3 separate regions of the Homo sapiens genome follow, and all the other regions are linked to region 1. Evidence: promoter capture Hi-C in 16 types of primary human blood cells and fetal thymus (Javierre and others, 2016). All regions are on one chromosome and are shown on one strand. The core of a region is centred on a gene start or on the middle of the fragment in contact, and the rest is flanking DNA. Distances in the headings are between cores, read along the strand shown.

The links. Contacts are between HindIII fragments. The CHiCAGO score rates a contact against its expected background, and 5 or more counts as called.
Region 2: a fragment that was not itself captured here is called in contact with the fragment with the promoter of PDIK1L in region 1 in 1 of 17 cell types (total B cells); the score reaches 5.6 in total B cells.
Region 3: a contact is called between a fragment that was not itself captured here and the fragment with the promoter of PDIK1L in region 1, in 9 of 17 cell types (M2 macrophages, M0 macrophages, M1 macrophages and 6 more). The highest score is 15.4, in M2 macrophages.

Annotation. Positions count from the first base shown.
Region 1 is chr1:26,110,495-26,113,134 of GRCh38, reverse strand. PDIK1L (PDLIM1 interacting kinase 1 like) reads right to left here and starts at 1,311. Exons shown (of 3, transcript NM_152835.5): 1 at 1,220-1,311. RefSeq lists enhancers at 548-657, 1,038-1,267 and silencers at 1,318-1,957, 2,018-2,297. The HindIII fragment of the contact is 5,419 bases long and covers 1-2,640 here.
Region 2 is chr1:26,464,719-26,467,358 of GRCh38, reverse strand. All of the region lies in intron 8 of DHDDS (dehydrodolichyl diphosphate synthase subunit), which reads right to left. DHDDS-AS1 (DHDDS antisense RNA 1) reads left to right here. Exons shown (of 3, transcript NR_125953.1): 1 at 1-311. Among named protein-coding and RNA genes, the nearest start is that of DHDDS-AS1, 1.5 kb to the left of the region's middle. The HindIII fragment of the contact is 1,205 bases long and covers 703-1,907 here.
Region 3 is chr1:26,391,284-26,393,923 of GRCh38, reverse strand. No RefSeq gene overlaps it. Among named protein-coding and RNA genes, the nearest start is that of LIN28A, 18 kb to the left of the region's middle. The HindIII fragment of the contact is 2,342 bases long and covers 177-2,518 here.

The DNA.
Region 1 (2,640 bases), core at 62-2,561:
CAATAGCTATTTTAAAATTTTTATGTTTCCTTTTTCCTAGTCATAAGACAGCTGGAGTAAACAATATCTATTTAGTTCTAGGTCATTTTTGCCAACAAAGATCCTGCATATCAAGGGGCTCTCTGACAGAGTTCTTGGGAATTCAACTTACTGAACGGTTTAAAGGCGAGGGCAAAGGCCCTGCACAGAAATGCTCATGTGTTGAATGGAGAAAGTCTAAAGTGGGCTTCCTCAGCGCCCAAAGAATTTCTAGATTATAACCAACTTCATGAACGAATTCTCATTTGTAGATTGTGACCACGGGCTAGAAAAGTAACCTGAGATTGTACAATATTTATTCTGTACAGCTGGGGAAGCAAAAGGCTACTGACCCTAGAGCCTGAGAAGTTGGGATCCACTGCTTTAAGTCTACAGGATAGATTTAATAAAAAGAAATGACTTCTGAGATTGTGTTCAGTCCCACTTCCTCTAACTGGACACCCACCCTTCAAATCGCTACTGAATTTCCTAGTGTCTAATTTCCTGCCACAGAATCCTCTGCGCCGGCTGCACAGCAGACGAGCTTTCCTGCTCTACGGGGATCGCCAATCACATCCACTCAAGGTGGTTCGTGTCTCTGAAGCAGTGCCATGTCCTCTCCAGCCTGGTACAGTCCCCATGGGGAAGAGCACCTTCCTGAATAGGGAGGAGAGAGGTGTTTATGAAACCCGTGGGATCCCGGATCCAATGATGCATCCGATGCGAACCTAAGTGACTTTCGACCGAAAGTGGCGGGCCCTCGCTCCCGCTGCTCTAACCAGGCGCTGGGACGCGAGCCGGCCAGGCCAGACACCTGCCGGCGCCCGGGAAGGGCCAGTCGCGGCCAGAGGTGTTGCCCGACGCGGCGGCTCAGGCCGCGCTCATTGGCCAAGTGTCAGGCCCTCCCCCTCCTCGGCCGTGCTCAGATGAAGCCCGGAGGGGAGCCTCCTGAGCCCCTTCGCTCTGAGGAGCCAGCCCTGCAGTTGCCTCAACTCCTCGGGGCTGGGGGCTGAGGGCCGGGGGGAGGTGGCCCCGGTATGAGAGGAGGCCGCGACTGGGGTCGGTGGCCTGAGGAGCGCAGGGCCTTCCCCAGGATGACTCCGCTGACACGTCTGTGACAAGCCTCCCAGGGAGGGAGGCACATGCAGGGCCATCGGCTCTGCAGCAAGACCTCTCCGCCACGCCGAAAGGCCAGATTTACCTCAGGGTAGACGCTGCCGCTTCTCCCTCTCATGGGCTCTGCAGGCCGCCATTATCGGGCAGCTCGCGCCTCCGCTGCCGCCGCCTCCAGTCAGCAGCCGGCGCGCGCCCCCGTGGTGCGCGCGGACACACCCCCTTACGCCGACGGCCCCGCCCCCCTCCGGCTTTCCGTAGCGCGAGCCGGGACGTTCCGCGCCACCGACGAGGCGCGCGGCCGGCGCTCCGCTCGCCTCCTCCCTCTCTCGAGGATTTGCAGAGCCGGGAGTCGTCGGAGGTGTGCGCGCTCCGGAGCGCACCACTGGTGCTGCTCCCCGCAGGGGTGGCCGGGCTCGGGAACCGCGAGGCCACGCCACGCCGGGGCTCGGCCACCCTCCAGCCGCAGCGGGCGCTCAGGGCCCGCGGCCCCGGGGACCGTCTGCAGCGGCAGGTCCGGGCCTGGGGCTGCGCGCGCCCGGCCGCGGCCTCCCCTCCCTCTACCCGCCCCCTTCCGACCTACCGAGCTGCGGGCTGGGGTGCGGGGCTCGCTGGGGTGGAACGCCCGGTGCATCTTCCGCGCGGGTCTCGGGTGCCTGCGGGGCGCGGTGCTCTTTGGCGGGCCTGCGGGGAGGTGCGGCCCGACCAAGGAGGCCTGGCGTCCGCCCCGCCGGGAGGGAGACTGCAGCTTTTCTCCGAGTCACTGAGCCATGTTTGCGGGCGGTGCAGTTGCGGAGACGGCGGCGGCGGCGGCGGCGCGGGGCTGGGTGCGATCATCTGGGAGGATGCCGTCCCCTGCCCCGCCGGCGCGGTGGTATCTCCCTTAAAGAGGCCGGCGCCTCATTGTTCCCCGGCTGCGGCCGCAGGGAGCCAGGGCCACCTCCTCGGCGTGGGGAGTGAGGGCGCGGAGGCGCCTGCACCTGGCTGCGGTGCCCACGGCGCCCCCCCGCGAGGCTCCTGGTGGAGGGTTGGTCTGCAGTCGGCGCAGGGGAGAGGCCTTGGTCCGAGCCAGGATCCACCGCGCTCCTGCCGCTCTCGGGGCTGGACAGTCAATGGGGTCCCCGCCGCTGCTGCAGTCGCTCGGCTGCCACACGCTGTTAGTCAGATCCCGCACGCTGTTGGCCCCACAGCCAGCCCGGGGTCACTTAGGACCGCATTCCTCAGTCATCCAGTTGTTAGATCAGTAAGCATCCGCCAGAAAAGTCCATTCCTTCTTACTCGATTTATTCTGCACCCATTACTTCTCAGCAGGGTGATGATTCCTCCTCCCAGCGCTCGCTCTGTAAGGCACGATGTACAAAAAATCCCTGTCGCTGTGCTCAAAGATCAACTCATTTTATTTTCTGTCCTTTATGCCCCTTCTCCCGAGAGTCTGGCACTGGGTTAGGTCTTTATATAAATGATCTTGCTTAATCCTAACCAAACCCCACAAGAGTAGGTTTTATTATC
Region 2 (2,640 bases), core at 56-2,555, 350 kb before region 1:
GCCGTAGAGCTCTCCGTCTTGCTGGAAGGGCTTCTTCCAGGCCTTGGTCAGGAGGCTCCCTGGGTGCTACATACAGGATTTTTTTTGAGGATATGGAGATGCGCAGGACACGATCCCAGCAATCCAGGTGCTTACAGGCTGATTGTACAGCCATGCACACAGAGTGCCACGATGCAAAATAGGATGTGGTAAGGGTCATGCAGTTCAGAGGAGAAAGCAAGTGTGGCTGATGAACATCACGGAGCAGTGACCTTCATGGACAGACAGAATTTGAGCTGGCCCTTTAACCAATGAGGAGGATTCAAACAGAGGTGAGGTGTGTGGGGGGCAGGGAGAATATTCTGGCAGTGGGAGTAATGAGCAAAGATGCATGGAACCGAAGAGCCTGTTAAGGCCAGAGTAAGTCCACCTGGAGCACTGGGGTTTGAGAAGTTCCTAAGGCCTCCCTCACCTCTCTAAGGCTCTCTCTTACTCTGCAAAACCGGGATAAGAGTACCCACCTCACTGGGTTGTTTGAGGAAAAATGAGATAATGAATTTTCAGCCTACTGCTTGGCTATTAACTGTTAGCTGTTCTATCACCGCCACTTGTGGACTGGGCTAAGTAGTCTAAGTTTCTGGCAGAACAGAAAGGATGGGGGACGCTCAGCAACAGAGGGAGGAAATATGGAGCTAGCTAAAGCCACTTCATGAGGCGCAAGCTTCTTCCAGATGGCATCAGAGTGCATGCCAGCAATGGGGGCTGTAGCCCAGGCAGAGCCTGGCCCCTGTCTGCCAGGAATTAGCAGTTCATTGTTCAGATAGCAGAGTTGGGAGGGTGTCTGCTCGTCATTTTACAGAAAATGACAGCGAGGCTGAGATGGCTGAAGTTCCCTTGGCTTCTCCACTAAGATAACTTCTTGAGAGGACAATGTGAAGTGTATCTCGTGCCTGTGTATAAGCTCTACTTTCTAGGGGTGGAAAAGCTGGTGGCCTGTATCTGGATACCTGTCTATCCAGCTTCCACATGGTCTGAATCTACCCTTTCAATCTCAGAGGTGTTTCCAGTTCTTCTCAAGTACTTACCCTTGGGAAATCCAAGCTAACAGAAGTCCTAGAGGTCAACTTTTCTCTCCCTGACCATTTGTCTACTATCCTTGTATAATGACCAATCAGGGTAAGTGAGGGCGTTAATTCTTTCCTTAGAGACTTTTTGTACAGACCTTATCCAATCTTGGTGCAAGGGCTCCAAGAAGCTCACTTTGAGAAATGTGGTTCTAACCTATGAATCTAAATTCCTCCTGGGCATTATCCCTCTCTGCTCTTATTCTCTCCTTGGTAGAATCAGAGAACAAGATGTAATAGTCCCTCCAGTACTTAAATCTAAAAGTCCTCTACCACTCTGTTGGCACCTGGAGAGAGGCTGCAGGTCCTTGGCTTCAAAACATTAGCCAATGAAAAGTCCTTCCCCAAGCTGCAACCAGCCAGCCCAGGTCAGCAGCATGAGGAATGCATTTCTGAGGGCTGCTCTCAGGCAGAGAAGGGCACCTCCTACCAGAAACATGATGTTCTGAAGCACCCTCAGAGTCTCCTTGCCTGGGGAGTTGTACTGGGGACAGGATGTGCAGGGTGCTTTTCCAGAGAGGAGTCTGAGGAGAGGCCAAGAGACACACATGTGGGGAACAATATTGGCCACCATTCTTGGAAAATGAACTCTGTTCCAGCCACTGCACTCAGCACTTGACATGTGTTAGCTTACTGAATCCCTATCACAAACCTGCAAGGTAGGTATTACTGTAAACGCTACTTCTCTCATTTTACAGGTGAGGAAAATGATACTCTGAGGGGTTAAGTAACTGTACAGTCATATAGCTATGTAGGCAGTGCCAATATTCAAAGTCATGAATGTCTGAGACATTAACTCAAGCTTTTAGGCTAAGGTGGGAGGCTCGCTTGAGCCCAGCTGCTCAAGACCAGCCTGGGCAACATGGCGAGACCCCATTTCCACATGCATACATATATGCATACATACATAACTCAAGCTTTTATCCTGAGGAGAAGATAGTGACAACCTGAAGAGCAGAAGAAATATAATGTTCAATCCAGCCCGTTTAAATTGTGACAAATGTACTACAGGAAGCTTCGTGGGAACATGTGTCTTTTCCCTCTCTAATATCATCCTTGGAGATGAGGTGAACACTTTTTACTCATCTCCATCAGTGACCTCTCAAGGACCTACCATCCATGCAACTTGTGATTGAGGATCAGCTGCTCTGCACTGCCGCACACCCCCTCCCTGGCCTGATTCTCTATTTGTCCCTGCCTCTTTGCTGACAAGTCCTACTGCATCATAGTCAAGATCTCCCTTTGCCAGCCTTTAAGACTGGCTAGGTGACCACCTGGAGACTGTCATGGTCCATTCAGATACCAAGGTCTGGCTCCCCACAACTTGTAGCCAAGTCCCTGCTTCCCTTACGATCCACCCGCTGCCTTCCTCTCAGTAAGCTACTCTAGGTCCAGAGCCTAGCCCCTTGCCCTGGCTTCCTGCAGAGAATAGGGACACATTGGGCAGGGCCTAGAGACAGAGCAGCTCAGATTTTAAAATGGGAATTTGGGTGATGGGGCAAGAGCACAGACATACAGGTAGGAAACTGGAGGGCAT
Region 3 (2,640 bases), core at 98-2,597, 280 kb before region 1:
CCCCTGGCCCCCTTTCCCATTTTTTATAGTGCTCTACACATCTGTGACAGAGCATTTGTCCCACTGTATTATATATATTTGCTTATTTGTCTTTCTTTCCCACTGACCACTACAATGTAAACCCCATAAGCCAGGGACTATGTTTTGTTCATTGTGTCAGTATGCAGCACAAAGCTTGGGATAACGTAATTGCTTATTAAATGTTTGTTGAATTAATAAATGCATGACTTGCCCCAGTTTCCACAGTTAATAATGGCCAAAATTAGAATGCAGATTTTATTTCCAAGTCCAAGAATTTGTTTTTACCATCTCCCGAACCTAACCTAGTTCTTACTCCTAACCCCTGCTGTCAGGCCTGTCCCCTCTAATTCCTCAGAATCTTAGGTCACTTATCCGGAAAGGAACTTAGAGCTCATCTGATTCAATCCCTTCATTTATAGATAAGGGAACTAAGACTCATAGAAGGTAAATGCTTTGTCAAGGCTACACAGCAAAAATTGTTGCCATCCTTTCTTCCTGACAACCAGATTGGTGTTTTTTTTAATGGGATTCACCAAAGAGTTCATGGACTCCCAGGGCTTTGTCTTGGGGACGGGGGTAGTAGTAAATAAATAATTCCATCTAAGGCTCTCCTTTTATACTCCCTAGACACCCCAAAGGCTAGACACCCAAGAGTCTATTCTGAGACATCCCATCAGGCAGAAATTTCAAGCAAGACAGGATAGAGGGGTGTGGGAGTGTGTGTGTGTGTGTGTGTGTATAGGATCATGGGGCACTAAGGATGCAGACGTGAAAACTGGGCTGCAGCACAGCCCCTCTGTTGTGGGGTCCCTCGAGTCTCCCACCATGGCAACACCACTCCCTCTGCCCCTGAAGCTGACCTTTGGGGCCAGAGATCAATAACTTGGACTTTGGCTTCAGTCCCCTTTGGCCCCCCAGTGACCATAGGCTGCCCAGAAGAGCTAGTGGGACTCAGAGTCATTAAGTAACTGTCACTCTTCCCCAGCCCCATTTTGGGGCATGGCTGGGGGAGGGGCCAGGGATGGGAACTATATGGAGAGTCACAGGTGTGGTCTGGTTCTTCCCATCCTCACTGGAAGAGAAGTGACCTCTATCTCTCTTTGACCCCCACCCACTTCTTTTTACCCTCGGCCAAGAGGCTTCCTCCTGCCCTCTCTACTCCTCCATGTCCTTAGCACTGAGCCCTGACTCCCCTCACAGAACCCCCGTGCTCCTCACCATGTTCCTCTTAGTCCAATCTTTTATGAACCCCCTCCTCCCATTGTGCTCACACTTTATATAAACTGGAGGTATTTTACCCTTTTGTCAGCCAAGACAGTAGTCAGAGGCCGGGTGCGGTGGCTCACTCCTATAATTCCAGCACTTTGGGAGGCGGAGGCAGGTGGATCACCAGAGGTCAGGAGTTCGAGACCAGTCTGGCTACCATGGTGAAACCCCATCTCTACTAAAAATACAAAAAATTTGCCAGGCTTGGTGGCAGGCACCTGTAATCCCAGCTATTTGGGAGACTGAGGCAGGAGAATCACTTGAGCCCGGGAGGTGGAGGTGGCAGTGAGCCAAGATTGCCCCATTGCACTCTAGCCTTGGCAACAAGAGCAAGACTACATCTCAAAAAAAAAAAAAAAAAAAGACAGTAGTCAGGAATTTCTCATTCACCTTTTTCTAAATACCTCATCCCAGGTATCTTCTCACCAACTATTCTCCTCCAGAGAAATCCACTGTTCTGCCATACTTTTAGCGGGATCCTGTTTCAGAAACACACTCACCTACCCCACCACCACCCCACCAACTTTCCTTGCTCTTCACCCACCAGTCCTCGTCCACCTCCACCCCAGTGTCCCAGCCAATCACTACTGATTGATTGATTTGGGAGGAGGGGGAAAGAGGATCGATGGAGGACTCTGGGCCTATTCTTATTCAAAGCAAAAGGTTTAAGAGGGGGTGGATATTCATTGTGGAGAGGATGCAGAAATCGCTGTGGCGCTCCACAGCCTTGCTGATGTGGTCTGCAGCGTGGGGGAGGGTGGGTCAGGCCACTGGGGGTGGGGACGGATGCTCTGAAGGCTGGGAGGACAGTGGTGTGGGGGCTGATAGAGGTAAGAAGAAGGCATGCATCAGCAGTCTGGGCATAAGGTGAGGTTCCCCAACTCTGCCCCTCAGGGAGGAAATTTATGACCGAGAGTCATTCTTCCCAGCTCAGAGAGGATGCCCTGGGTACTCTCAATGTCCAGCAGGGGACACCCTTACCCCACATGACCCCTTTCCTCATCCACCATCACTAAGTTCCGTTGTTCATTCATTCATTCATACATTGAAACGTTGTTTGAGTGCCACTATGTGCCAGACACCATGCCACAGACTGGAAAAATACAGGCATGAACAAGATAGATACACAGACAAATGAGGTTCCAGGCCTTGTGGCACCAGCAGGGCAGGATTACAGTGAACAAATAGTTATAGTGATTTAATTTAAGGGAAAGGAGATCAGAAAAAAGCTTTCCTCAGAAACTGATTTTGAAACAGAGACTTAACAGATGCCTAAATCTTGACCAAAGAAAATGTGAAAAAGAGGTAAAGGGGGGGCGTTTGTATGTGTGTGCATGTGTTGAGAGTGTGTTT